Linked DNA regions of Homo sapiens: regions 2, 3, 4, 5, 6 and 7 are each linked to region 1. Evidence: promoter capture Hi-C in 16 types of primary human blood cells and fetal thymus (Javierre and others, 2016). All regions are on one chromosome and are shown on one strand. The core of a region is centred on a gene start or on the middle of the fragment in contact, and the rest is flanking DNA. Distances in the headings are between cores, read along the strand shown.

Evidence for each region. Contacts are between HindIII fragments. The CHiCAGO score rates a contact against its expected background, and 5 or more counts as called.
Region 2: a fragment that was not itself captured here is called in contact with the fragment with the promoter of CD9 in region 1 in 1 of 17 cell types (endothelial precursors); the score reaches 5.2 in endothelial precursors.
Region 3: a fragment that was not itself captured here is called in contact with the fragment with the promoter of CD9 in region 1 in 2 of 17 cell types (neutrophils and monocytes); the score reaches 7.6 in neutrophils.
Region 4: a contact is called between a fragment that was not itself captured here and the fragment with the promoter of CD9 in region 1, in 6 of 17 cell types (neutrophils, M0 macrophages, monocytes and 3 more). The highest score is 10.0, in neutrophils.
Region 5: a fragment that was not itself captured here is called in contact with the fragment with the promoter of CD9 in region 1 in 1 of 17 cell types (neutrophils); the score reaches 5.1 in neutrophils.
Region 6: a fragment that was not itself captured here is called in contact with the fragment with the promoter of CD9 in region 1 in 1 of 17 cell types (neutrophils); the score reaches 5.3 in neutrophils.
Region 7: a fragment that was not itself captured here is called in contact with the fragment with the promoter of CD9 in region 1 in 5 of 17 cell types (neutrophils, M0 macrophages, non-activated CD4 T cells and 2 more); the score reaches 8.5 in neutrophils.

The regions. Positions count from the first base shown.
Region 1 is chr12:6,198,168-6,202,243 of GRCh38, reverse strand. CD9 (CD9 molecule) reads right to left here and starts at 1,844. Exons shown (of 8, transcript NM_001769.4): 1 at 1,679-1,844. The coding sequence starts at 1,744. RefSeq lists enhancers at 1-521, 1,748-2,359, 2,360-2,972. The HindIII fragment of the contact is 13,626 bases long and covers 1-4,076 here.
Region 2 is chr12:5,958,413-5,962,488 of GRCh38, reverse strand. All of the region lies in intron 47 of VWF (von Willebrand factor), which reads left to right. Among named protein-coding and RNA genes, the nearest start is that of ANO2, 15 kb to the right of the region's middle. The HindIII fragment of the contact is 532 bases long and covers 1,558-2,089 here.
Region 3 is chr12:5,974,669-5,978,744 of GRCh38, reverse strand. It overlaps VWF (von Willebrand factor), which reads left to right. Exons shown (of 52, transcript NM_000552.5): 43 at 2,485-2,634. Among named protein-coding and RNA genes, the nearest start is that of ANO2, 31 kb to the right of the region's middle. The HindIII fragment of the contact is 9,174 bases long and covers 1-4,076 here.
Region 4 is chr12:5,992,739-5,996,814 of GRCh38, reverse strand. It overlaps VWF (von Willebrand factor), which reads left to right. Exons shown (of 52, transcript NM_000552.5): 35 at 593-813; 36 at 2,208-2,400; 37 at 2,612-2,953. Among named protein-coding and RNA genes, the nearest start is that of SNORA120, 45 kb to the left of the region's middle. RefSeq lists a silencer at 58-352. The HindIII fragment of the contact is 2,208 bases long and covers 1,157-3,364 here.
Region 5 is chr12:6,390,926-6,395,001 of GRCh38, reverse strand. LTBR (lymphotoxin beta receptor) reads right to left here. Exons shown (of 10, transcript NM_002342.3): 10 at 3,436-4,076. The coding sequence ends at 4,065. Among named protein-coding and RNA genes, the nearest start is that of LTBR, 8.8 kb to the right of the region's middle. RefSeq lists an enhancer at 3,529-4,076. The HindIII fragment of the contact is 2,950 bases long and covers 722-3,671 here.
Region 6 is chr12:6,013,743-6,017,818 of GRCh38, reverse strand. It overlaps VWF (von Willebrand factor), which reads left to right. Exons shown (of 52, transcript NM_000552.5): 29 at 949-1,065; 30 at 1,163-1,303; 31 at 1,587-1,730. Among named protein-coding and RNA genes, the nearest start is that of SNORA120, 24 kb to the left of the region's middle. The HindIII fragment of the contact is 4,695 bases long and covers 1-4,076 here.
Region 7 is chr12:6,032,020-6,036,095 of GRCh38, reverse strand. It overlaps VWF (von Willebrand factor), which reads left to right. Exons shown (of 52, transcript NM_000552.5): 20 at 1,270-1,408. Among named protein-coding and RNA genes, the nearest start is that of SNORA120, 6.1 kb to the left of the region's middle. The HindIII fragment of the contact is 538 bases long and covers 1,644-2,181 here.

The sequences.
Region 1 (4,076 bases), core at 595-3,094:
CACCTATATGCCGTCCTCACTGGGGTGTGTGTTATGGTGACTGATGCACTGGGGGAAGTCAGTCTCTGCAAATTGGAAAAACTGTTCAACCACCCCTTCAGCTCTGGGGAGGAGTGAATCTTAGAAGATTTCCCTAAGGAGGCTTGTGGGGACCTCAGTGACCAGCTCCAGGGGGAATAAGTGCATTTGTTTCTTTTCTACTTTTTTTGAGACAGGGCTCACTAGGTCACCCAGGCTAAGTGCAGTGGTGCAATCATGACTCACCGCAGCCTTGACCTCCCAGGCTCATGCCATCCTCTCATCTCAGCCTCCTGAGTAGCTGCGATCACAGGTGCATGCCAACACGCCCAGCTAATTTTTTATTTTTTTGTGGAGATGGGGGTCTCACTATGTTACCCAGGCTGGTCTTGAACCTGGATGAAAGCGATCCTCCTGCCTCAGCCTCCCAAAGTGCTGGGATTACAGGCATGAGCCACTGTGCCTGGCCAAGTGCACTTTTTTGTTACAAGACTCTGGTGGCATGCACCTGTTTCTACATCCATCTATCTTGAGAGTGGCATAGAGACTCTCTTCCTGCCTGCAGAGCGGCAAGTATTGTCATGTGTGTGCAGGGAATGTGGCTATAGAAACAAGGACACAAGGGTTTCCTATTCCTTGCTTCTGTCGCCTCTCAGCCTTCCCATTTGTAGAGGCTGAGTGGCCTGCAGCAGGTGTCTCTGGAGCTCCTGGCCCCGCTGGCCTCTCCAGATGAACGTCCGCTCTGCGCCCTGCCTGGCCTTGGGTGGGCCGCCTGGGCTGGCGGGGAGGGGAGAGGGCAAGGCCAAGGCTCTCCTGGGCGGGCAGCTGGCTGGCACCTGATCTCTCCCGGAAATGCACACACAGGACTCATCCCACTAGAGGCGCAGATAGGTATCTGCCCCCTCCTCTCCCGAACTCTGAGTTCTCTCCAGTGAAGATACTTATCGTCCTTGAAAGAAATCAAGACAAGCTAGTCTTTCAGGGAGCTACCAGGGAGTTCGGCGCTCTCACGGTGGCTCAGAATCAAAGTCTGAGGGAACGGGGGCCTGCGAGGTTCCTCCTCAAGGGTGGAGGGGCCCCCGACTCTCAGGGACTGGGTCCCGGGGCCGGACCCGCGGCCGAGGCACCCCTGCCGCTCCTGCGTAAAAGTGAGAGCCGCTCTTGGCTGAGCTCTCGCCGTGCCCGCACCCTCCCTTCCTGGCGCCCCCTACTACCTGGGAGACCCCACCCGGTCACAAGCCATACTGCTCACCACAGTCCTCCTTGGCCTTGGCCCAAAGAGGGGTGCTCCGCTTCTCCCTGCCTTCCTCTCTGGCACTCGGAGGGACTTGAGCTGGGAGCAGACACACACCCCAGCTCAAATCCTAGGCGAGCTAAAGTGCTCAGGACCCTCCCGCACGCCTCATCTCAAGAGGGCCCGGCTCCCCACGCCGGCTGGGCGGTGATGAGCCCCCACCCGAATGCGCCCGTCGCGGCCGTCCCGCCCGGCTCTGGACCCGGCCTTGGAGCCAGCTGGCAGCCGCAGGGCGCTCTCTCTTCCCGCCCGGTGCCTGCCCGGTGCGGGCAGTGCCAGCTGCCGGCACTCGCGGCCGCGGCCAGTGTCCGGGGCCCGCGAACAGGTGGGCCCTGAGAGGAGCGCGCGGCAGTCGCGCTCACTCACCCAGAAGATGAAGTTAAATCCGAACAGCAGGTATTTGATGCACTTGGTGCCTCCTTTGACCGGCATGGTGAGGGCTAACTTAGCCTGGGCCGAACGGGTGCGGGACTGGGGGGCGCGCGCAGCTGGGACTGGCGGGACCTGGCGCTGGATACAGATGCAGGCGGCTGTAGGCTGGTCTCCGGCTGCACTTTTAAAAAGTGCCACTCCTTAGGGCGCGCGACCCGCTGCGGTGCGCATGTGCCGGGAAAAGCCGCCCCCACTCCCCCCGCCGGCCACGCCTCCCGCCCCACCGGCCCCGCCCGGGCCGCACCCCCCCCGCCCCCCGCCCCCGCCCAGGTCGGCGAGCCCCGGCCCCAGCTGCCCCGCGGAGCCCGACCCTCTCCCTGTTTCCCCGCCTAGTCGCCCTAACCCCCACCCGCCACCCACTCCTTCTTCAAGCCGTCTTGGGGTCTTTGCAGGCAGCCACTCCCTGCCACTTTTACCGCGGACTTACGTGGAGGCCTCGCCCTTCCGGTTCCCCCGCGTTTGGTCTGGGCGCCGGACCGGGCGTTCTGCTTTGGGAGACTCTTCCCCGGGTCGTCAGGGCTAAAGGCCCCTTGGCCAAGGCCTGCTGCCAGAGTGAGGGGCCCTTCTGCTTTGCGAGGATTTAAAGGGAAGCCGCCTGGCTTAATTTCGCCCTCGTCTGTCTCCTTGCAAACCTTCGCTCGCTGACCATACTTTTCATTGGGCACAGCATGTGGGGTAGGAGGAATTAGAAGCGCGCAGTCTGGGTGGGATGACAGATGGGAGGCTTTTGGAAGTAATTAGCAAATACCTATCACCGAATAATAACACAGCTGAGGGCTGGGCAGTCCCCAAGCGCTTCCTGCACTTGAGGTTTAGTTGCCCCAGAGGGAAAAAGGGTCTGTAGACGGCTTCTGTTTTCTCTCTACTCCTCCACCCCACCCTCCCTCCTGCGTCTTTGGACTTGCTCGCTGCTGCCTTGAACTGCTCCAGATGCCGAGCTCGGAGCGCTTCTCCTGAGCTCACAAACTTTCTGTAGCTCTCCAGATTCAAGGACCTAAGTCGAAATTCCTCGTCTTGCCCTCAAGGCCCTGTACAGAGCACTGATCTGACTTCTCCCGGACCCAGAGCCCACCCCACTCGCTGGCCGGCATGCGCCCTGGCTGGCTGGCCCCCCCCCAACGTCACTTGTAGGAATTCTGTGGGTCTTTAAACACTCCTTTCCTGATTCTCTGGAGTGGACGAGGAGAGTCACCTTCTTTTGAAGTCCCCGAATCCCTTTGTATTATTTTCAAAATGAAGTTTCCTTTACTGTCCTTTATGATTACAAAAGCAAGATACAGTCATTACAGAAACAACCGAAATACCAAGAAGTGAAAGGAACAGACCTCAAAATTCTGCTCACCAGAAACAGCCACTGTTAGCACATTGCTGTTATTTGCCTGTTTATTATCAGTAGACTTGTCTCATTGGTTCAAAAACATTTTTCAGTATCTATTAGGGTATTTCATTAGGGGTAGGAGCTGAAAAACATGGATTAGTCCTTGTTTCTGCTCAGGGACCAGTGTGGGAGGAGACAGGCAGCCAGACAATGGTTTGAGGGTGATAGGTGCAGTTACGGGGAGAGGCTTGGGGGCTAAGAGGCTAAGGAGAGGCCTCTGACCCAGACTGGGAGATGATGCTGCAGAACCACAGGGAAAGTTGCCGCCAAGGGAGAATCCTGGGCAAAGGCTGGGGCAGGGGCTGTCCGGGCTCTGGGCTGGAGCCTGGAGTCACGGGGTAGTTTGTGGGAAGGTGAGAAAGAGCCTTGTGCTCCTGGACTTTGCACTCTGAGCATTAGGGGCCACCGAAAGGTTCAAGCAGGGGAATGGTTGGATCTGCTGTGTTTTCAGAGGTTCTCTGCCTGTGTTTTAGGTAGTTGGGTGGGGGAAGGCCGGAGGGGCAGGTAGGAAGCCCCTTGAGGACCAGGACCATTGTTGGCATCTCCAGTCCTTGGCTCAGTGCTTTACGGGATTGCATGGAACATGGAGATGTTGTATTTGGGGAGACGCAATCAGGTAATATGAGGGGAGCAGTGGTAGATGAAAGTTGAGCTGAGGACCAGGTGCAAATCTGCTAGGAGGCTGTGGAGTAGTTCAGGTGAGAGAAGAATGAATGAAGGCGGGGCAATGGGATAAAGCCTAGAGAAGGCAGGGCAAAACCCCATGAGGTGTCAGGCCGGGAAGGGGAGGGAGAGATCAGAGGCAGAGCAGCAGAAGCTAGTAACAAGTAGGGGCACAGGGCACATCCCCACGTCAATCTGAGTCCGAGAGGCTCCCCAGAGCAGGGGACATTGCAGCAGCTGACTTGACTTGGGAAGGTGGAGTCAGTAGTCAATGCGGAGGAGGGAATTCCA
Region 2 (4,076 bases), core at 574-3,073, 240 kb after region 1:
CCTTTGTCTATCCTTATGGTCTCACCACTGTCTTGATTACTGTAACTTTATGGTTAGCCTTGAAATTAGATAATTTAAGTTTTTCAACTTTGCTGTTTTTCAAGATTGTTTTGGGTATTTAATGTCCTTTCAATTTCTATATAAATTTAGAGTCATCCTGTTAATTTTTATTAAAAAAATGTTTAAAGTGTGCCGGATTATATTGAATCTATAGGTTAATCTGGAGAGAAGGGATGTCTAGACAAGGTTGAGTTTTTCAATTTATGAACATAGTATATCTCTTCGATTATTTAGGTCTTGCTCTCAGTCTGTGCTGCTGTAACACAATACCTGAGACTGGGTAATTTGTAAAGAACAGAAATTAATTTTTTCACTGTTCTGGAGGTTCAAGATTGAGGTACCAGCAGATTTGATGTCTGATGATGGCCTGTTCCTCATAGGCAGTGCTTTCTCATGGCATCCACATGTGGCAGAAGGTGGAAAGGCAAAAGGCACTAGGGCATTCCCTTTGACTTTTTTTTTTTTTAAATAACAGCACAAATTCACTCAGGAGAGTGGAGCCCTCATGACTTAAATCACTTAGGCCCCATCTCTTAATATCATCAGTTGGGAGTTTAAATCCCAACATAGGAATTTTGTAGGGACACACACATTCACATCTTAGCAGTCTCCTTTAATTTTTCTCTGCAATGATTTTTTTTGTGTAGATGCACAAATTTTGTTACACTTATTACCTAGTATTTAAAGTTTTTGGACGATATTGCAAATGGAAGTTTTTTTTAAATTTTATGTTTTGTTTGTTGCTTTTATAAAATCAGTTTTTATATTTTGATCTTGTATTCTTCAGCCTTGCTAAATTCACTTATTAGTTGTAGTAATAGTGTTTTTTTTTTTTTTTTGAGGGGGCAGATTCCTAAGGATTTTCTTCATAAGCAGTTATGACACCTTCAAATAAAGACAGCTTTTACTTCTTCCTTTGAAATCTTTATACATTCTGTTTTGTTTTTCTTGTTATCAAACTGGCTAATATAATCAGTACAATATTGAATAGAACTGATGGGAATATTTTCTTTCTGATCTTAGAGGGAATTAATTCATTAAGTATGATATAGTTGTGTGTTCAACAGCAGCAGTGCCCAACCTTTTTGGCACCAGGGACCAGTTTCGTGGAAGACAGTTTTTCCATCGACTAGGGTCAGGGGGATTGTTTTGGGATGAGTCAGATGCATTATGTTTATTATGCACCTTATTTCTATTATTATTGTATTGTAATATATAATGAAATAATTATATAACTCCCATAAGGTAGAATCAGTGGGAGCCCTGAGCTTGTTTTCCTGCAGCTAGATAGTCCCATCTAGGGGCGATGGGAGACAGTGACAGATCATCAGGCATTAGATTCCCATAAGGAGCACGCAACCTGGATCCCTCACATGTGCAGTTCACGGTAGGGTTTGGGCTCCTGTGAGAATCTAATGCTGGCTGCTGATCTGACAGGAGGCAGAGCTCAGTTGGTAATGTGAGTGATGGGGAGTGGCTGTAGATACAGATGAAGCTTCACTCATTGGCCCACTGCTCACCTCCTGCTGTGCAGCCCAGTTCCTAACAGGCCACTGACCGGACTGGTACTGGGGCCCCCTGTCCTATAGCATATTGAAGAAGTTCTCATCTATTTTTTTAGTGCTGAGAGTTTCTACAATGAATTGGTTTAAATTTTGTCAGACAGTTTTGCTGTATATTTTAAGATGACCATATGGTTCCCCCTTAATTCTGTTAACATGAGGAATTGCATGGATTGATTTCAAATGGTGAGCCAACCTTTCATTCGTTTGATGAATCCCCTTTCTTCATGACGTGTTATCCTGTTTCACATCCAGTGCTAGATCTATTTGCTCATATTTTGTTAAAGATTTTAATGTTTATGTTAAGAGTGTTAGGTTTCTAATTTTCTTCTCTTTAATGCTTTTGTTAGATTTTGATGTCAGGGTTATGCTAGATCCAACAAAATATGGTGGTGTTTTCTAAAGAGCTTATATAAAATTGGTATTATTTCTTCCTAAAATGTTTGGCAGATTTCATCAGTGAAGCTTACTAGACTTGAAGCTTTTCATGTGGAAAAGATTTATATATAAAATTCAACTTTTAAAATAAAAAAACGGATTTTCTATTTCTTCTTGAATTAGTTTGGTAAATCAGTTTTTCATGGAACTTATCCGTGTATTTAAGTTGGTCAAATTTAGTTACACAAAGTTGTTTATAACATTTCCTTATTATACTTTTAATATCTGTGGAATCTGTAGTTGTAAACCTTCTATTATTTCTAATATTGATAATTTGTTTCTTTTTATTTTCTTGATTAATCTAGCTAGAGATTTTCTTATTTTGACTAATTTGTCTATTATATATTAATTATTATTATATTATATATTATTATATTATTAATCTTTCAAAGATCCAACTTTTGCCTTTGTTGTTTTACTTTTTATATTTTTCTTTTCTATTTTATTGATTTCTGCCCTTATTTTTATTATGTCTTGTCATTTAATGACTGGGTCTAATTTGCTCTTCTTTTACTAGCATCTTAATATGGAAGCTTAGCTCATGATTTTCTAATACAAAATTTAAAATATAAATTTTCCTTCAAGAACTGTTTTTGCTGTACTCCTCAGATTTTGATATATTGTTTTTTATTACCGCTAGTTAAAAATATTTATTTTTTGATCCATGGGTTATTTAAAAGTATTTTATTTAATTTCCAAATATGGTGGTGTGTTTTTCAATACTTTATTGTTGCTAATTTCAATATAATTTCATTATATTGAAATTGGTCATAGAATATAATCTCTAAGATTTCAAAATCTTGACATTTATTTACTTTTTTATCCAGTCTCTGTTTATCCATGTTTACATTTTTATGGCCCACAATTTGGTCTGTCTTTGTGAATATTCTGTGTGCATTTGAGAAGAATGTATGCTCTGCAGTTCTGGAATGTAATAGTTTATTATTTCCAACTAGGTCATATTGGTTCTTACAGTTTTCCAAATCCTCTATATCTTCATTTGTCTTTTTCCTACTTGTTTTTATCAATTACTGAGAGAACATAAAAATCACTGACTAAGATTGTGGATTAGCCTATTTCTCCCTTTAGTTCTATCCATTTTTGCTTCATATATTATGAAGTTCTGTAGATGCATCCCTCTTAAGCATTCTTATGTCTTGATGAATCTATTCTTTTGTCATTATCAAATAACCTCCTTTATTTTTTATTTATTTATTTTTTGAGATAGGATCTCACTGTGTCGCCCAGGCCTGGAGTGAAGTGGCACAATCATGGCTCACTACAGCCTTGGCCTCCTAGGCTCAGGTGATTCTCCCACCTCAGCCTCCCACCTAGCTGAGACTAGAGGTGTGTGCCACCATGTCCAACTAATTTTTGTGGAGATGGAGTTTTGCTATGTTGCCCAGGCTGGTCATGAATTCCTGGGCTCAAGCGATCCTCCCACCTCAGCCTCCCAAAATGCTGGGATTACAGGTGTGAGCCACCGCACCCAGCCACCTCCTTTATTTTTGGTAACATTCCTCATCTTAGGCTGTCTCTAGTCCTATCTAAGCTTGGCAACAATGGACCAAGATAACAAACTAAGAATTACAGTCAGTTATTCACTCATTCAACATATATGGTATCTACTATCATTTATCCAAGCAGAGGGATCAAATTAGTGAAAGAAAACAGGTAAAAATCCTTTCCCTGCTTCCCCTAAGTGAAGAGTAATCTTTTATGTTTATTTATTTATTTTTTGAGACAGGGTCTCACTCTGTCTTCCAGGCTGGAGTGCAGCGGTATGATCATGGCTCATTGCAGCCTTGACTTCCTGGGCTCAGGTGATCCTCCCATCTCAGCCTTCCAGGTAGCTGAGACTACAGTTGTGCACCACCATGCCTAACTGATTTTTTGTATTTTTTGTAGAGATGGGGTTTTGCCATGTTTCACAGGCTGGTCACAAACTCTTGGGCTCAAGCGATCTTCCTATCTGGGCTTCCCAAAGTGCTGATATTACGGGCATGAAGCCACCTC
Region 3 (4,076 bases), core at 644-3,143, 220 kb after region 1:
CTTAGAAATGCATATTTTAAGAGAGGATAAAAACTCGTAAATTTGTAGTGGTATTTCTGATTCAAATGAAATTACAGGACTTTACTTCCTTGATTTTTTGCTTGTATCATTTCTCTTCTAAGTTGAAAATTCTGGTTTCCTAACATAATTAACTACTTATTTGCTTTATCTTGCAATATACCTGTAATAGTTTCAAAACTAACCTGTAATCCTAGCACTTTGGGAGGCCAAGGTGGGCGGGTTACCTGAAGTTGGGAGTTCAAGACCAGCTGGCCAACATGGTGAAACCCCATCTCTACTAAAAAATACAAAAAATTAGTTGGGTGTGGTGGTGTGCACCTGTAATTCCAGCTACTCTGTAGGCTGAAGCAGGAGAATCACTTGAATCCGGGAGGTGGAGGTTGCAGTGAGCCGAGATTGTGCCATTGCACTCTGGCCTGGGCTACAGAGTGAGACTTTGTCTCAAAAAATAAATAAATACATAAAATTTCCTTTCAGTTCTTCTAGTCCTAAAAAAAAAACCTCATTGGGGGATATTTGTGTAAATACTAGGTTTTGAAGTCATTTGAAATAACTATTATAATTATATTATGATGTAATATATCATATAATTATTATAAATAATAATTATGTGCCACTGACGATATCTAGTTAATATTTCAATTTGTTTTCCATTTTTAGGGATTGCTTTTTATTTCTTTTAAATTTTAAAATTACTATGGTGTAAAACACTTAAATGATTTTAAACCCCAAATTATAAAACAAGACATATTCCCAGGAGTCTTACTCTGTGTTTTCTCTACCTTATTCCTTCCTCCACCCTATAATTTATATATGTGAATATATATAATATATAATATATATATATAGAGAGAGAGATAGGGTCTTGCTCTGTCACCCAGGCACAAGTGCAGTTATGCGACCTCAACTAACTTCAGCCTCCACCCCCTAGGCTCAGACGATCCTCCCCCTCAGCCTCCTGAGTAGCTGGAACTACAGACATATGCCACCACATCCGGCTAATTTTTGTATGTTTTTGTAGAGACAAGGTTTCATCATGTTACCCATGCCGGTCTGGAGCTTCTGAACTCAACCAATCTGCCCGCCTCAGCCTCCCAAAGTGCTGAGATTACAGACATCAGCCACCGTGCCCAGCCTTTATAATTTTTATTAGTTTTTCTCTTTTTGAAAATATAACTGAATTTTATACATGTATATTTCTTCCCATTTCTCATAGAAAGGAAGCATATTATGAATTATATTTTAAATTGTTCTTTCTCATTTAACAATATTTGATGGAGATTATTCTGTATCAGTGTGTAGAGATCTGCCTTATTCTTTCTTATAGCTGCATAGTACTCCATTGCATGGCAGCACCATAGTTTTGTTTCAACAAGTCCCTTATTGGTGGACATTTGAGTTGCTTCAGCCTTTTGCTATTACAAATTGCAGTAACAAACAGCCGTGTGCATCTGTCATTTTGTGGTCTTGCCAGTGTGTCTTTGGGATAGATTCCTGGAAGTGAGATTCTGGGTCAAATTATAAATACACATTTACTTTTGCTAAGTATTGCTAAACAATTCTTCTCCATAGGGATGGTAACATTTTCCTGCAGGCCTTTTAATAGAACAAGGGGTCTCATTCAATAAGTTCATTATACAGAAGCTAGAAGACTGAGAAGATAAATGATAATGGTTTCAAAATGTTTGAACTGCTATTATGACATTCACAGGGTGGAGACCCGTTTTGCATAACTTTGGAGGGCATACTTGGGATTAATTTCAAAACTGTCATTAAGTCCCGTGATCAAACAGCTTCCTTAGCTCCTCATTCCAACAAAAGGATGTCCGAGCATTGTCTGTGGCGTGCATCCCAGACTTTCCACGTTTCCCTTTCAACCAGCCTTTTTCATCTGTTTTCCCACATCTCTACCAGAGCCTATTGTTCTTCCCAATAGGATCCCTTGTCTCTCAAACATATCCCCTGCTCTGTGTCCCAGAGTCTTTACTTGTTATGTTCCTAGTCACTCGTGGGCAAGGGGACATGCATTCATAGCCCCTGCCCAATTTGCTCGTAAGTGGGCAGAGGGCTCGATGAGGATGGGCTCCAAGTCCAAGGACATTACTGGGTCTGGGCATGTGGGTACAGCTTCTCGGTGACATAGGAAGGAGTGAAGTGCAGTTAAGGCAGGAAGAAGGGAGACCAAGGCAGCCAGTGTGTTGTATTCAAGTCTGTGGGACCATGAAGGCCTCACGAGGGGCCACCCCTGAGAGACTGGTCATAGCTTTTCTAAGGCTGGTGGGCAGGGAAAGGAGGAGGACGAAATCTGCTTTATAAGCAGCCCTGCATATGGGCGGAGACCACATTTGGTTTTATTTATTGCCACATTCTCAGCACTTAGAGCGGCTTCTGTGTAGTAGGTGCTAACTCACCGCTTGTTTCAATGAAACAAATGAGTTCACTCACGAAAACTTATGTCTACAGGTGTGTGTCCACCGAAGCACCATCTACCCTGTGGGCCAGTTCTGGGAGGAGGGCTGCGATGTGTGCACCTGCACCGACATGGAGGATGCCGTGATGGGCCTCCGCGTGGCCCAGTGCTCCCAGAAGCCCTGTGAGGACAGCTGTCGGTCGGTGAGTGGGGCAGGGGCTGGGCATGCCTGCAGCTATCAGAGCGGGAAAGTAGAGGAGGGCATCTTAGGAAGGGTAAGAAAGGTTCTTTTTTTTTTGAAATGGAGACTCGCTCTGTCGCCCAGGCTGGAGTGCAGTGGCACAATCTCGGCTCACTGCAAGCTCTGCCTCCCGGGTTCACGAGGAAGGGCAAGAAAGGTTCTTTAGTGACCTCTGGTTCAAGGCTAGGGGTGAGGAAGAGGGAGGGGGTTAGGGCTGGGTAAGAAGAAAAAGCATGAGCAAAGGATTTCTGCGTCATCCTTCTGCAGTTCAGTCCTTGGCTAATGGTCACGTCTGTTGTATGGCCTTAAGTCTAAAGTACTGGTGGAGTAGGTTTGAGCAGAGACATGGGGAGGACTAAATGCCTAGAAAAGAGAACTTGAAGTTTTCCTTTTTCTTCCACCCTCATGTATCACCTTCGCCTGTCCCTAGAACAAATGTATGCTCTGAATTTTCTAGGATCGTCCTTGTTTCAGTTTACTCTGGTGTTTCCACATAGACTGTTGATTTTCAGACCATGTTTATAACTTGAGGTACGGAAAACATGATCCCTGTTTCCCAAATCCAGTTCGTGGTGGCTGCCCCTGAGGCTCCTGTGTGTGCTGGGGTGCCCTATTCTTGCATGTTTAGGATGGATCAGACTGGAGAAAAAGGGAGCAACAATCTGCAGGGAGGACTGTGGGTAAAATTCTGCTTGCTGGTTTAATGCGATTATTATTACTACATTATTATCAGCAGATAATGATGTTAAGAGAAGAGGTGCCAGGGCAGGCGAGCACATCCATCTTGTGGTTGCTTTTGCAAATGTCAATGGCAGTGAAGGCAGAGTTCCTGAAGGTGTTTTCGAGGTGAATGGTTTGACGGAGGAGGGCCTGAGGGCAAATCCCGAAACCCAGGCCCTTCACCTGCTATTCTACTTGCATTTGGGTACTGAGAGTGAGCGGAGGTGCTCAGTACCTTTGGGAGAGGATGACGCTGTGGTATCCAGGTGTTCCTGTGGGAAACACTAAGTTTTGGAAACCCTTTGGTTTTCTTCTCCTCTCACAGGCCATCTGAGGCCAGGGAAATAACTTGCTGTCAAATAAAGAGAGTGCTGCTTAGAGGTCATTTTTAGAAAATTGACAACCAATATATTTCGTGTTTCAGTGGGGAGTTTTGCTTGCAAAGAATAGAACCCATTCAGGCTAGCTACAATAAAAGGGGATTTGTAGAAAAGATACAGGAGGATCTTTCAGACAGGAAGTGCAGGATTTGTAGGTGGGCACCGTGGTCCTACAGCATGTCTCTCCATTTGTCCTAAGAGCCGGTATTTCTGTCCGTCTGCTCCAGCTCCTCACTGCAGGCCAGCTTCCTCTGTGCAGAAGTTTTGCTTTCTCACACATTTTGTTTACACACAGCTTTGTTAA
Region 4 (4,076 bases), core at 1,011-3,510, 210 kb after region 1:
GAATGACTCAGGGTCAAATGAGGGAGCATTGAGACTCAACCATTTTTTTTTTTTTTTTTTTTTTGGCTCTGGAAATATTTCTCCTGTGCGATCTCTTAAGGGATTAAGTCAACATGGTCACTTGTACCATTACCTTAGTCACTTGGCAGCTGAAAGGACACGTGTCTTTAGGTGAATTTTCTTTACAATGAGATCATGAGCTCATAGCTTGCTTAGCTTTTCTTAATTTCCACGAGTCATAACACCCCTGGAACTTAACTTTGTTTTCTGGGCCAAGGCATCCCTGTAGAATGGATTATTCACACTGTACATTTAAATTTTTTAGAAGTGTGGTTCTATAATTTGCCACATTTTATGTAACAGGAAAATATTTAATGGCCAAGTGTTACTTACCTAAACCTCTCTACCTCTCAGAGCCCCAGTTTCCTAATCTGTAAAAAAAGGAGGAAATTGTTCTATATGACCTCAAAGGGCCTGTTCCATTCTCTACTGTATTTATCTGTGTGCAACTTGGTCACACCTGCCTGTCTGCATGTAGTAGGCATGGGGGTTTGGATAACGTCGCATCCATCCTCTGCTTCTCTCTGTCCAGGCGTGTGCACAGGCAGCTCCACTCGGCACATCGTGACCTTTGATGGGCAGAATTTCAAGCTGACTGGCAGCTGTTCTTATGTCCTATTTCAAAACAAGGAGCAGGACCTGGAGGTGATTCTCCATAATGGTGCCTGCAGCCCTGGAGCAAGGCAGGGCTGCATGAAATCCATCGAGGTGAAGCACAGTGCCCTCTCCGTCGAGCTGCACAGTGACATGGAGGTGAGAAGTACTTTCTGTGGATCCGTGGTAAGGCAATAGAATGTCAGGAAAACCACCTGGACCTGGTGGCAGTTGCTTTTAGTTGATGCTCTTGTTAGGAGCTCTGCCTTCTGCTTAAGTGGAGGAGAGGAGTACCACTTTCTTAGAGGGGTTTATTGCCATCCCCTTGTCTTGGCGTGATTTCATGTTGTTCCGGGCTCAGATTTGCAAGATGGAATCACTTTTAGATAGCATAAAATTGTGAATTTAGTGCCAGTTTCTGGCACTGGTGGAGAATTGGGATTGGCATCAGGATTGTTCACTCGGAAGGTATTATGAGTCCAATGCCTAAACCCTGTAAGCTTTCCAAAGGGAAACATTTATGGCCTAAATTAGGTCTTTTGAAAATATTTAAGGCCTACATAAAACGTCAGGCTCCAAAATTTGAAAAGAAAACTGCAAAACTGATATATATATATATAAATGATTGATTAAATGCTTACAAAAGGTTACACTATGCCAACTTCTTTACTTGTTCGTGTAGAAATCATAAATATTTCATTGTGTGAAAACAACTTGTAAGCTAGATTTTCTCACTTCGCAAGAATTCCTGAATTTGAACAATAATTGCAGAAAAATCTTAGTCATATATCAAGTGAGTAACTCATAGCCAAAAATTAAAAAATCAAAATGATAAAAAATCCTTCCAAAAATTTTACAGCAAAATTATATTCATTGTGGAATGTGAGTACATTTTAATGTGTTTGATATGATATATGGTGGGGCTGCCCAAGAAAGAGCGTCTAGTGGCACACATACACACAAAGAAGACTTAAAGTGGTCCCATTAAAACACCAGTGTCCAACCTTTTGGCTTCCCTGGGCCACACTGGAAGAGGAATTGTCTTGGGCCACACATACAATGCATTAACACTAACGATAGCTGATGAGCTAAAAAAAAGGTCTGGGCATAATTTTCTGATATCCACCACCACAGAGAAGCAAAAATGTCCTTGCATTCAAAGGGTTGGACACAGCTGCTAGATGCTCTTGGAGACACTGCTCTGATGAGTTGGCAATAAGGCGACTTTCCCAGCCTGTCTTAAAGGCATTGCCCTTCCCTGTTGAGTCACATAGACTCAAGGTTCCTTTTAATCTCCAGGCTTTTAGGTTCTTGGTGCATGGCCACCCGTACAGTATTACAACAGCCTGTTTTCTGGTCAAGCTCTGTAAAGTCAAGCTCTGTTTTCTAGTCAAGCTCTTCTTTATCTTAGAAGAGCTGCCGACAAATATCAAGGTTTGTGGCTGATGTTGCAGTTGAGTGTGATGAATGTGCAGGAACTCTCGGTAACTTCCCTAAAAACCTAGGATTCCTCATTGCTAGGACTACGGATGAGCTCTTTCTTCTTTGTGCAGGTGACGGTGAATGGGAGACTGGTCTCTGTTCCTTACGTGGGTGGGAACATGGAAGTCAACGTTTATGGTGCCATCATGCATGAGGTCAGATTCAATCACCTTGGTCACATCTTCACATTCACTCCACAAAACAATGAGTTCCAACTGCAGCTCAGCCCCAAGACTTTTGCTTCAAAGACGTATGGTCTGTGTGGTAAGAACATTTTCTCAACTCCTCTTCTCCCCCTGCTATACATTTATAAACCTTACTTGCTCTACTCTGAGGCTCTTGGATGCTTATATTTCAGGGTCTAGTAGCGAGGGTCAGATTCTGGTGAGGATCAAGAATGGCCTGTCTCTGGCATCAATGTTTTTGTACCCAGGGCCACTCAGTTTATCTTTTTTTTGTTTGTTTGTTTCTCTAGGGATCTGTGATGAGAACGGAGCCAATGACTTCATGCTGAGGGATGGCACAGTCACCACAGACTGGAAAACACTTGTTCAGGAATGGACTGTGCAGCGGCCAGGGCAGACGTGCCAGCCCATCCTGGAGGAGCAGTGTCTTGTCCCCGACAGCTCCCACTGCCAGGTCCTCCTCTTACCACTGTTTGCTGAATGCCACAAGGTCCTGGCTCCAGCCACATTCTATGCCATCTGCCAGCAGGACAGTTGCCACCAGGAGCAAGTGTGTGAGGTGATCGCCTCTTATGCCCACCTCTGTCGGACCAACGGGGTCTGCGTTGACTGGAGGACACCTGATTTCTGTGGTGAGTCTCCAAGTTACCTCTGAAAATCCTGGAGACCAGCTAACTGGGCTTGCTCAGCCTCTCTGTGCCCCAGATTCTTTATCTGGCTAATAAGGATGAAAATCCCTGTATTTCGTATGACCTGGGATTCCAGTTAGGATCAAATAAGATGGAAGATATATATATACATATACATATATGTATATGTGTGTGTGTGTATATATATATATATACACACACACACACACATATATATGTATATATATACACACATACACTCTGCACGTAGAATTTTTATGTAAATTAATGCATGGTCCTTTCCATTAGTATTTCTATAGTTCAGACAAATGCGATTTTAATGTGTTAGACACATATAGGCATCTGTAAAGGGCTGTGTAACCAGTCACATTGAATTTGAAATTCCACCAAGCTTTAGCACACACTTACAGTGTAGTCCATGCCTGAGCAGGATTTTGAAGTGCAAGTAGAATCATTGGTTGCCAAGAGTCTTCTCAGTTATAAACACTGCAGGATTGCTAGTGCAGACAGCCCCTCCCCAAGGTCAGCTTCCCTACCTGGACTTGGCATTTATTTAAAGTACAGGGGAAACTGAAATGAATCAGATATGGCTCCTGTCCCTCAGGGGTGCTGGAGTGAAAAGAATACTGAACTTGAAACCCTCAGTCATCAAATATAATCCTCGACTATTTTTTTGAGGGAAATCAATATGTACATGCCTGTTAGAGCCTCAGAGTTTATCATCATGGAACTGTCAGCAGCTCTGAGCTGGGTCTGGAGGACTTGGGCATCCTAGTCCCAGCTCAGCTGGTGGATGGACTGTTCTCTTAGTCTTTCTGGACCTCAGTTTCTGCATCCTAGAATGAGATAGTTGGCCTAGATAACCTGTAGGTTCCTTAGGGCTCTGATTTTCTGAGGCCATGTGGATGATACTGCCTCCTCCCAATCAGCCTGCAAATCAAGGGGCAAATGTTAGTTTCTAAGTTACTGGAAGCACTTTCTCTGCATACTGATTTCTTTGTGTACCTCCTGGTTATTTACTGTGCACACAGAGGGAAATCTTTGGTGCTCCAAATCCTTGGAAACTTCGTCCATCACCTGCCTGCCTTGGTGCCTTGAGGATGTG
Region 5 (4,076 bases), core at 947-3,446, 190 kb before region 1:
ACTGTTGATTTGGGTCTCAGTGATGCCTTGGGAGCCAGGTTCTGTCCTTTCTTCCAGGTCCTCAGAGGACTGGCTTTTTATCCCCGTGGCGGTTTCCTCATGATGGTAAGATGGCTGCCACAGCTCAGGAGTGATGTTGTCACACGCAAAATCCCCAAAACAAAAAATAAGGGCCAAGGCAAACCAAAAACTTTCTCCTAATGGTGCTTTATACCCTGGAAAGGAAGACTTCCCTGTGCATGTCATTGTACAATTGCAAAGAAGAATGAGTTTATTGGCTCCTGGGATTGGGGGAAGGGCCTCTTCTCCTGATGTCACGGAATCTCTGCTCTAGTACAAAAATGCGGTTCTGTCCTTAGGAAATGTGCAGAAGTCTGTTGGACAGGCAGCAGAAAGAGTCCACCACAGCTGTCTATGTGAACCGCTTTATCTTTTGAAAAGGGAAGTTCTTACTGACCCTTGTTGGGCTGACCCTGCCGGTACTCACAGTGCTTCCTGCGGGAAAAGACTAGAGTGAGTCTCCTGTGAAGTCTCAGACTGGTGGGGAAGCCGAACGCCCACCTCCCATCCACTGTGTCCACTGGAGAAACCGAGCATCCAGGGACTCCTCTGCGTGTGGCACTGTGCGGGCTTGGGGAGGAGTGGCGTGGTCAGAAAGCAGCCATCCCCTTACCGTCCTCATGGTTTTTCTTGGCTCTGCCATCCCAGGGGATGCAAAGCTTCACTCCAAGTTCTGGGATATTCAGGGTGGTAAACTTGCCACAGGATTGTTGCTAGTTGAAATTCTGTTGGGGAGGAGAGAAGCCGGAGAACTCCTACTTTGACATTGTGTTGATGCCACTCTCAAAAAGGGAAATTCTGAATTACCCCATCCTCCCCCATCTCCCTGTGCTACTGCTCTGTCCCCAGTTCCATCCACCTTTCTTCTGGACTACAGCCTTGGCCCCCTAACGGGTGTCCCACCCCCGTGTTGATGTGGGTTGGACTTGGTGTTAGCTTTCTCCTCCCTGTGGTAGAGGATTAGGGTTCTCACAACCAACAGTTACCCCATTGTCAACTGCCATTGCATCCTGTTGCATCTTTTGAAGACCACCATCAAGAGGCTGTCTTTGTTGGTTTTCTGCCAGCTTTTCCTTGTAGACAGGAGCTCCCCTCTACGTGGCCTGTGCTCTGTGGATGTGTCCTGGAGCCTGTACTGACTCCACACTGGCAAAATAGACATGGGTAATGCTGTGGGTGGAACTGTGTCTCCCTCCAAAATCCACGTGCTGAAGCCCTAACTCCCAGGACCTCAGAATGGGGCCTTATTTGGAGACAGGGGCTTTAAAGAGGTGACTAAGTTAAAATGAGGTCATCAGGATGGGCCCTAATCCACTAAGAGAAGATTAGGACACACTCATGCACAAAGGCAAGACCATGTGAAGACATAGGTGGCAGGAAGGCCACCATTAGCAGGCCAAGGACAGAGGCCTCAGAGGACACCAACCTTGCCAACACGTTGACCTCTGACTTCCAGCCTCCAGAGCTGTGAGAAGATAAATCTCTGCAGCTTAAGCTATCGAGTCTGCAGTACTTTGTTATGGCGGCCCTAGAAAATTAATTTAGGCAGCCCAGGTGCAGTGGCTCATGCCTGCAATCTCAGCTCTTTGGGAGGCTGAGGTGGGAGGATCACTTGATCCCAGGAGTTTGAGACCAGCCTGGACAACATAGCAAGACCCCACTTCTTAAAAAAGAAATTAAAAAAAAATTAGCCAGGTGTGGTGGCACGCATCTGTAGCTCTAGCTACGTGGGAGGCTGAGGTAGGAAGATCATTTGAGTCTAGGAGCTGAGGCTATATGAGCCACGATTATACCACTGCACTCAAGCCAGGGCGACACAGTAAGACCCTGTCTCTAAAAAAATACAGGCAGGTATAATTATAAATTTGAATGGTGTCACAAAGGGCTGTGCTTCAGCATCATTTCTTTCAAAATATTTTCCTCCTTTTATTTTGTTGAAAAAAATGTATAAAATTTGTTTTTTATCTAAACACATTAGAACAATTATTAAGAATTCATGAGGTCTGGCCCCAGCATATTGCAGGGGCAGGAGGATTTAACTTTATTTAAAGATACAGCTCACCATTATTTACTTTTCAAAAAAGGAAGTTGGATGTGATATTTTCACAGTCAACCTTAAATGACCCATCCACTCCATTGGATCAGACGCCTTCTGAGGTGTGTGTTTTGCAGCCGCCCCACCCTGATGAGCTCCAGCGACAGAGTTCCTCATATCAGACCCATGAGAGTGGCCTTTTATGGAAGGAGCAGCCGGCTGGCAGCAGCTCCCTAACAATCCTGCAAGCTAAGATCCTCTCGACCGAGCACAGGAGAGAATTCAGGGGCAGGGAGGGGCAAACATTTACTAATAAGAGGGCTTGAGAAGATTTAAAGTCCTTTTTGGGGGTAAAAATAAAAGAAGACAAAAAGAAACCAAAAAAGTAAAAATCATAAATACTCTTTCTGAACCAAAAGGAGGCCAGCCTAGATTTCTGTTCACCAACAAAATGTGAACTTGGCCTCTCTCATTTTATGTCTAAAGTGCACACCTCAGGTCAGGCACGGTGGCTCTCACGCCTGTAATCACTGCATGTTCAGAGGCCAAGGCAGGAGGATTGCTTGAGCCCAGGAGTTCGAGACCAGCCTGGGCAACACAGGGAGACCTGATCTCTACTAAAAATACAAAAAATTAGCTGGGCGTCGTGGCACACACCTATAGCCCCAGCTACTTGGGAGGCTGAGGTGGGCGGATCCCTTGAGCCAGGAGTTCAAGGTTGCCATGAGCCATAATAGTGCCACTGCACAACAGCCTGAGTGACAGAATTAGATCCTGTCTCAAAAAAAAAAAAAAAAATTGCACACATTTCCCTTCAATCAACCTTGGAGAACATTTTTCACTTCGCGTGTGGCTAGATGTTTGAGAGTTGACTGAAAAGTAACACCTGCGGAACATGCAAGAGATCTGATTATTTGAGAAGGCCAGACCATTCTACCCGTTCAAAGAAATTCTGGAAGGGCGTGGTATATGAAGGCTTTTTTTTCCCCAAGAGGCCTCTAAAAGCCAGACGAACTAGGTGCAAATCCCAGCTTTGTCATTTGCAGCTGAATTGGGAAAGTTACCGCTCTGTGCCTCAGTTTCCTCATTTGTTAAATGGGAATCATATCTACCTTAGGGAGTTATTGTGAAGATTAAGTAAGTTAGTACTGTAAAGCATTGAGAACACTGCCTGGCACGTTGTCAGCCATCACTGACGAGACTGTTATTACCTGGACTATACTCACCAGCTCCTCACTGAAATATCTTTATGGGATTATATTTTAGTGTCTTGACCTTTGTCTTTGAGATTGTCTCCATGGAATAGTGTTTCTGTATAAATCCCAAGAAAATAAATTATCTAGGTCCCATTCTTTTTATTTGCATGTGGTTACAATATAAATACACTTGCCATTTTCCTCCCCTTCCAAAACTCTTCCCCATACCTAGGAATCCTACCCAACCCCCTAGTTGTTAATGACTCCCTTTCCTCTCCTCTAGGAGGGGAGGGAAGGAGCGTCCTCCCTATAATTTCATCTTCATGCAGGGTCTACCTCAGTCCACGTGAAGTGTGGAACCCCAAAGGGTCTCTGAAGCTTGGGGATGAGCACCACGAATCCTTTAGAGGGGCCCGTGACGTCCTTGCAGGTGACCGTGTGGCGGCTCCCTCGGTGCCGTGCTCCGGTGCGGCGTGCCGTAGTGGGCAGCAGTTGGTATCATGTGCCCTGTCCGTGCCTGAGGCTGAGCAGCCCCAGGGGGTGGGTGGGTCTGCCGGGAGGCCTCAGGTTTGCTCAGGCAGTAGGGAGAGTCCTGTGGAGGGCACCGTACCCAGCCAGTGCCCACCTGCTCTCAGAGGTGTCTGAGCCTTAATCCCTTAGGGCTCTGCTTCCCCGGGCCCTACTCAGGCCCCTGTGAATCCCACGTGGGCAGGGCAGCCTCAAGGGAGAAGGTGCCCTTGTGCCCCCCTTCTTCTGCCTTTTCTCAGACTCAGTCAGTCATGGGT
Region 6 (4,076 bases), core at 949-3,448, 180 kb after region 1:
AGCTGGGTAATTTTGGGCAAATACTTAACCTCTTTGTATATCGTCTATACAAAGGATGAGGCAAATACTTAACCTCTTTGTATATCATCTATACAAAGGATACACATCTTTGTGTATCCTCATCTATAAAATGGGGATAATAATAGCACCTACTTGCTTAAAATAGTATCTGGCACATGACAAGTGCTCAAAAAAAAATGCTTGCTCCCACTGCTGTTACTACTACCTTTTACTGACACTGGCGTCTAATCCATTCCTAGTTCCTGAACATCTTTATTCGGTGTGTTTGGGACCATCCCAGAATAATAAGCCTTCTTTTAGTATCTTTTGAGTCACACACTTGTCAGTACTTTTGTTTCTTTGTTTTTGTTTTTATTCACGGCCATAGATTTATTTAAATTCTTGTAATATTTCTGCTGAGGAAAACAACAATTACATCATTTCATCAAATCTCAGATGTGCTCAGACACTAACAGGAGCACTAGGCATTTATAGCTGGAAGAATCACAGTATGTTCACCTGCCCTGCAAGATCTGAGGACACAGCAGCTCATTGTCCAGGGAGGGGCTGCCGCTCCATTTCCTTTTGCAGTCTCCTTGTATTGCCAGGCCAGTATTTTACTCATTTCTAGAAGAATGGTGGCCCCTTCTTACCGAGGAAGCCTATGCCTGCTGCTTTTATTTGTAGACATTTAAACTTCCTTTGGGTAGAATTGGAGTCTTCTCAGTGTCTCTAAATCTGAGGTAGTCCGGACCCAGGAACTCCATCTCCCCATCCCCTCCTCCCTGGCCCACATTGCCCTTGTACTCACGAAGGCACCCCCCGCCCCCCTTGGTGGTGCCACGTGGTCAGCACGCCCTGCAGATCCTATTGGATGTCAGGTTGTAGGCCTGGTGGCCATTGTCCCTGCTGGCACCTGTGTGCTCACCTTCCTGGTTGTCTTTGCAGACTGCAGCCAGCCCCTGGACGTGATCCTTCTCCTGGATGGCTCCTCCAGTTTCCCAGCTTCTTATTTTGATGAAATGAAGAGTTTCGCCAAGGCTTTCATTTCAAAAGCCAATATAGGTGGGTGAGCGAGGCACCTGAAGCAGCAGGTGACGAAGAGGCTCTTTTTGTGGCTCTACTTGATTCAAAATAATCCGCATTTTCTCGTTCCGTTTAGGGCCTCGTCTCACTCAGGTGTCAGTGCTGCAGTATGGAAGCATCACCACCATTGACGTGCCATGGAACGTGGTCCCGGAGAAAGCCCATTTGCTGAGCCTTGTGGACGTCATGCAGCGGGAGGGAGGCCCCAGCCAAATCGGTAACGTTGGTGCCACAGGCTGGATGCAGAAGCTGCATTCTGGTTCTTATTTTTGGCATAAGTGACTGTGTGACCTCGGCCAGTCACTTTGCTCCTTGGCCTTAGTTTCTTCTCCTGGAAAGTGAGGGGCTAGATGCTCTTCCACGTCTCTCCAGATCTCAACTGGGTGTTCCTTGGAGTTTCTGAATCATTCAGCTTTTAAGTGACTTAAGGATCCACCGTTAAGACAGGGTGTCGAGCCGCAGTCAGTACTGACTTGGCGTGATCTGTTCTCCATCCTCAGGGGATGCCTTGGGCTTTGCTGTGCGATACTTGACTTCAGAAATGCATGGTGCCAGGCCGGGAGCCTCAAAGGCGGTGGTCATCCTGGTCACGGACGTCTCTGTGGATTCAGTGGATGCAGCAGCTGATGCCGCCAGGTCCAACAGTAAGAATCTGGTGTACAGTCCTCAATTCAGGAGAGCGAGACTTCAGAAATGATAGAGGATTAAAAGTGGGCTGGGGTTACTTTTGGATGTTGTGGCTGATATTAAATATGCTCAATACCAACCTCTGTCCTGGTTTCAAACAGCAGGAAATTATCCAACCACGATGTGATTAGGAAACCAAACAATAAAAAGTGTGTATTGATCCTATATCTTTATAACTAATTATAATCTTTAATTTCTCCACATTTTCCCTTTGTGTCCAGGAGTGATCATACCTCTATGCCCTTTCTTTCTAAAGTAGGATTCGTGGTCTCTTACTAAAATGTCATGTCTGAGGCCAGAGTGATTCATTGTAGGGCCTTGAGAACCAATGGGGGCTTTCATGTATTTAGAGTCCTTTCCTGGTACCAGGTAATGGGCTTGGCAGGGTTGATGGATGAGAGACAAAGGATCATGCTGTAGGAAAGGGAAGGATCCAGATGTCCAGCCTTGTGCTCCATAAGAACATGTGCTTATCATGTTCTTAATATCAACAGGATGTGAGCTGGGACAGGTGGTAGAGTCTAGGGACCACCTCCCAGCTGAAGAAGGTCTGGGTGAGTGGAGTGACATTGAGTCCCCTCGTGGCCACCTGGAGAACTGTTCATCTTTCAGAACCCTGCCTAGGAGTGCTGTCAGAACCCTGTCTTTTCTCTGCTGTCTTCCTGATGTTCTTCCTGAGGAAGTTATTTGCTCCGTTCTCTATGTCACATATGAGCTACTCAAAATGTGCAAATCGTATTGTATTGTATTGTATTTGTAACATATCTATTCCTTGCAAAAAACTGGGAGTTCTTTGAAGGCAAGGGAAGATCTTGCTTATTTTTGTATCATCTGTGTATGATGCACAAAATAGGTGACCATTTAACGTTTGTTGAGTGAATGAATGTGACATGTTTATGAAATCTATGATTTTAGGGTAAAGGACACTAAAAGGGAAAGGATATATATTTGGATAATATAACGAACTTACAAGAGCTGAAAAGCTGCTAATAGAAAATCCGTTCCAACCTGAAGCACATTGCAAATTCCTAGAACTTTCTGGAGAGCTGAATTGAGGAATTTCAGGATGGAGATTTTTTCTCCTTCAGTATCAAGAATCCAAAGAAAGATTTTCACTGGGAAAGAAAGCAGTTGTGGTCTTGAAGCAGATATGATCCAGAGCAAGTCATTTAACCGTCCAAAGCCTCGGTTTCTCATGTGTAAATGAGCATGCACATTCTCTGGGCTCAGCCCTGTGATATTTTCTCTTCTCTTCTTACATATACCCCCTTGGTGGTCTAGTTCAGTGTCATGGGTCTAAATACATTTATACATCTTTGACTTTGAAATTCGTATCTCCAGCCTCACCTCAACTCAGTTTGCATGCTCTAATAGGCAAAACTAAACTCCTGATTTTCACATCTGTCTTTCTTATCTTAGAAAATGGCAATTCCAACCTTCCAGTTGTTCAGTTCAAAAAGCTCAGCATCCTTGATTCTTCTTCCTTTTCCCTGATACCTCCATGCAAGCCACGAACAAACTATAGCTCCATCTTCAAAATACTTCGAGAGTCACACCTCCCCACACCATGTCCACTAGGGTCACCTCAATCCGAGTCCCCATCATCTCTCACCTGGACTATTGAAATAGCTGTCTAACTGGAACCCCAGCTTCCACCTTTGTCCCCTGCAGATCATTCTCAGCACAGCAGCTGCAGTGGCCCTTTAATATCAAAATCAGCTCCTGTCCCTCTGCTCTGTAGTCTTGGCTGGCTTTGTTTCATTCACAGAACATGGTGAGCCCTTACTGTGGCCAATGGAGCATTGCCTGATCCATGCCCTTTCCCTCTCTTGCTTGTCCCTCTCTCCCCAGCCCCCGGGAGCATGCAGTCACATTTCTGCTCTGGGGCCTTTGCACTCACTCTTCTCTCTGCTTGGGATGTCCCTCCCTCAGACATCCTCTTGGCTCCTTCCATCCTTACATCAGGTTTCTGCTCAGATGCCATCTTTTCACCAAATGCTTCTCCAACTGCCATATATGCAACGATAACCCACACCTCAGCCCTGGGCATTCTCATCCCCCTTATCTCATTTTGTTTTTTTCCTAAGCATTTATCCACATCTGAAATTCTATATATTTACTTTGTTTGTGTGTTTGTTGTCTATCTCTCCATGAGGACGGGGGACAGGGAGGGACTTTATGTGCTTGGTTCACTGCTGTACCCCTATTGCTTACAATAGTACCTGACACAGAGTAGCAGCTCATTAATATCTGTTGACTGAACATCTTCCTCATAGGGCTGATGTATGTGACCAGCCTGGAAA
Region 7 (4,076 bases), core at 663-3,162, 170 kb after region 1:
TGCATATACATAATGAGGTGTCTTAGGGATGGGACCTAAATCTAAACATGACATTTATTTATGGTTCATATATACCTTATACACGTTGCCTGAGGGTAAGTTTATACAACATTTTAAATATGTATTTAATGTGTATTTAGTATTTTTAATGTTTGTGCATGAAACAAAGTTTTGTGTACATTGAACCATCAGAAAGTAAAGGTGTCACCCTCTCAGCCACCCATGTGGTGTCATGTTGGTGCTCAAAGTTTTGGGTTTCAGAACATTTTGGACTTCAGAGTTTTGGATTAGGAATGCTCAGCTTGTATTTCTGTTCAGGGAGATGGGCCCCAGGGAAGACAGGGACCTCGCCCCACCAGTCATTGCATTTGGGCCAAGCTGCCAGTGGGCACGGGGTCTGGAGGGTCCTTTCGTTGCAGGCCTTACACTGCCCATGAGCACTTCGTGAGTGTGCTTGCAGTGGCGTGGTTTGAGGTGAGGGTGGCTGGTTGCCTTCTCCCTTTTCCTTGGCCATCCTGCACGTAACCCCTCACCCTGCTCATTCACCCTGCCTTTGACTTGGTGGCTGTGCACAGCCTTGGAAAGAGGCCTACTGGACAGAGGTAGAGAGGGCTGTCTCTTGGGCTTGAGGTCTGAGCTTACCACCTCTGACGCACAAGTGGGCTTCTTGATGTCAGCTCTGGTTACGGGTGGTGGCAGGGAGGGACACGTGGCAGTGGGCAGATCACTATAGATTTTAACATGTAGCTACATACATCTTAACGTGTAGCTATGCACACAGGACTGCTCCTGGCAGAAGTGCGTACTTCATCACTCTTTTCTATACTCTGGGCTTTCCCACTGTTCTGTCTTGTTTTTCCCATTAGCCTCAGGCTTTCAACATCAGTGTGTCTGTTTTACAGACACCCTGTGGCCAATCTCAGGTAGATGTGGCTTTCAGGGTGAGGCTGAGCGAATTCATAACAGGAGGCCTAAAGAGCATCCGGGCCTCCTCCCTGGCTGCCTGGCTCACTTTGGACAACCCCTTCCCTTCTTTGCCTCAGTTTCCCCCTTTTAGGGACAGCCACTAGGCTTCCCTGTCTCCTGCTGGGCACCATACTGGGCCTATGAAGTCCACACTCCACGCTACAGGTCCTCAACTTCCTTGGGCTTCCTGGAGGGTTGGGAGGCACCCAGAGTATTCTGTGTTCCTTCATTGCCTCCATGGCCCAGATGGGCCCCTCAAACCCAAGGTGCCCAACTTGTCATCTCTGCCATGACTGCTCCTAGTGTCTGTCAGGACCGGAAGTGGAACTGCACAGACCATGTGTGTGATGCCACGTGCTCCACGATCGGCATGGCCCACTACCTCACCTTCGACGGGCTCAAATACCTGTTCCCCGGGGAGTGCCAGTACGTTCTGGTGCAGGTGAGAGGTGGGGAGATGGGGAGAGGGTGCTGTTTCTTTCTAGGAGGGGTGGGAGGTGTGGCCTCAGGTTGGGTTCTGTGGATCTGTCTGCAGAAACAACTCTGGGGTCTGGTTTCTACTGGAGTACTTCCCAGTCCTTCACAGAAGTGCCTGAAGCGGTAGGGGATTTGAAGCTCAAAGTGGTTGTCCATTTTCCCTCTGCTCACCTGGGGACTTATAAAACGAGACAGAAGCTTGTTTGTTGTTGAGGATTGGTGTGGGAGAAAGGCTACTGCTAGTCCACATTAGCACAGATGTGGAATTAGAAAAAGTCATCTGTTCCTTCTGGTAGACACAGCCTCAGTCAGGGTGCATAGCTTAGGGAGTGGGTTGGGCTGGGAAGTCAGTCCCGCTCAGCCTCCCTTCCAGCACCCTGGGCAGTGCACAGTCTGCAGGTGTTGTGCAGTGGCCCTGGACAGGGGGATGGTTGAAATGACCCCTGGAGTTTGCTTCCCACGATATGGCTTTGTGGAATTCTCCGCCATTTTAATGTCTAACTTGGTACAATTCAGAATGGGAGGAGTGGGAGGATGGGACACAGGAAAGTCATCCTGCCCAGCAGATGAGAGCGATCCAGGAATCCTCACGGTGAGTGTGGGCAGCAGCCCCTCTGCCTCCCACTCCCCACTGCGTGGATTCTTGTAAGTTTCTCTTTCTGGTTGACATCAACTGTGTAAGCAAGGAAGTATGAGTGCTTTTCTCACCAGAGCTGAGGCACTGTACTCTGTGAAGCTTTGAACAAATATGGTCCCTCTGTCTCCATTCCCAGGAGGAGGAGGGGCGGGAGCTTGGTGTGGTCTGAATGGAAGACCACAAACCCATAGGAGCCCCAGCCCCAGAGGCTGAGTTGCAGGAGCTGGTGAGTCAGGCAGCGTGGGTGACTGTGGACCGACCACTCGTGTAGAGCATGCTGGGCATGGGGCGGAGCCAACAGCAGCCTCCTCAGTCCCCACCTCACACCCGGGCTGGCCCAGAGAGGCAGGCAGTGTGCTGGGGACACAGGGCATGCAGACCAGGCAGGGAACCTATGATCCGGGGGGATATGCGCCCCTTTAGAGCTTTCCCAGAGATTCTATATGGAAGTTTCCCAGCCTCAGCAGCAAAAGAGAGGGCGACACCAGCTTTGCAGAACAACTGCCCAGCCCATTTCAAATCTGAACATCCAGGAAAAAATTAATTCAGTGCAGCAAGGACCAGACAGCTGGTCAGCATCTGCTGCTCCCAGCCCTTCCCTGCCCAGGCCAGCTTTCCCAAGTGGACCAGTTTTAAAGACTCCCCCTCCAAACGGTGCCCCTTGTGTGTGGCTTGTTTTCCTTTCCTACAGCTGGTTCTGTTGTCTTCTGATGCATTGTCCTGGGGCCCCTCCCCTTTCTGCCATCCTCCTTTGGGGAGTATCATCAAGACCTAACTCCCTCTTTCAGAAATCTCAGCTGAAGATAAGGACAAATAAAACACCTACACCCTTGTTTCCTCTTTTAACCTTCGCCATGCATCGACCTAACACAAAGCCATTTAACCTGACAATTCCATTAAGTTGAATGGAATCTTAGAGGTCAGATTGTGTGTGTTGTATGGACATATGTATGCATGTATGTGTGCATGTGTGTATGCATGAGCATGTCTGTGTGGGTGTATGCATGTGCGTGTGTGTGGGTGTATGCATGTGCGTGTGTGTGACTGTGTATGAGTACATGGGTGTATGTGTGTGTATGCGTGAGCGCGTGTGTGTGTATGGCTACGTGTGTGTATGTATGTGTATGCGTGTGTGTGTGTATGAGTACATGGGTGTATGTGTGTGCATCTGTGTATGTGTGAGCACGTGTGTGAGTGTGTGTATGAGTACATAGATGTATGTATATGTGTGTTTGAGTGTATGCATGTGCCTGTGTGTATTTGGGTGTATGTGTGTGTGTGGGTGTGTGTGTCAGAAAGGTAAGTGGTTTGCTCAGTGTTACCAATAAGTGGCAGAATCAAGATTCACACCTTGTTTTTATTTTTTCTTTTTTTTTTTGAGACAGAGTCTCGCTCTGTCACCCAGGCTGGAGTGCAGTGGTGCGATCTCGGCTCACTGCAAGCTCCGCCTCCTCGATTCATGCCATTCTCCTGCCTCGGCCTCCCTAGTAGCTGGGACTACAGGCGCCCGCCACCACGCCCGGCTAATTTTTTGTATTTTAGTAGAGACGGGGTTTCACCGTGTTAACCAGGCTGGTCTCGATCTCCTGACCTCGTGATCCGCCCGCCTCAGCCTCCCAAAGTGCTGGGATTACAGGCGTGGGCCACCATGCCCGGCCTCTTTTTTCTTTTCTTTTCTTTTTTTTTTTTGAGATGGAGTCTCGCTCTGTCACCAGGCTGGAGTGCAGTGGTGCGATCTCGGCTCACTGCAGCCTCCGCCTCCCGGGTTCAAGCGACACACTCTGTTTTTCTAAGTTGAACATTTTATCTTTCTTTTTCATCACATCACAATAATAGCCACCATGGGGGAGGCATTTGCCAGGAATGTGTCCCCTTTTGCTTAATTTTCTATGCAATTGACCAACAAGGACCAGAGCTCCTTATCCTCTCTACTCATCTCGACTTGGTAGCTCAGGACCCATGGAGCTGTGTCAAACCATCTTTGGTTCCATTTCTG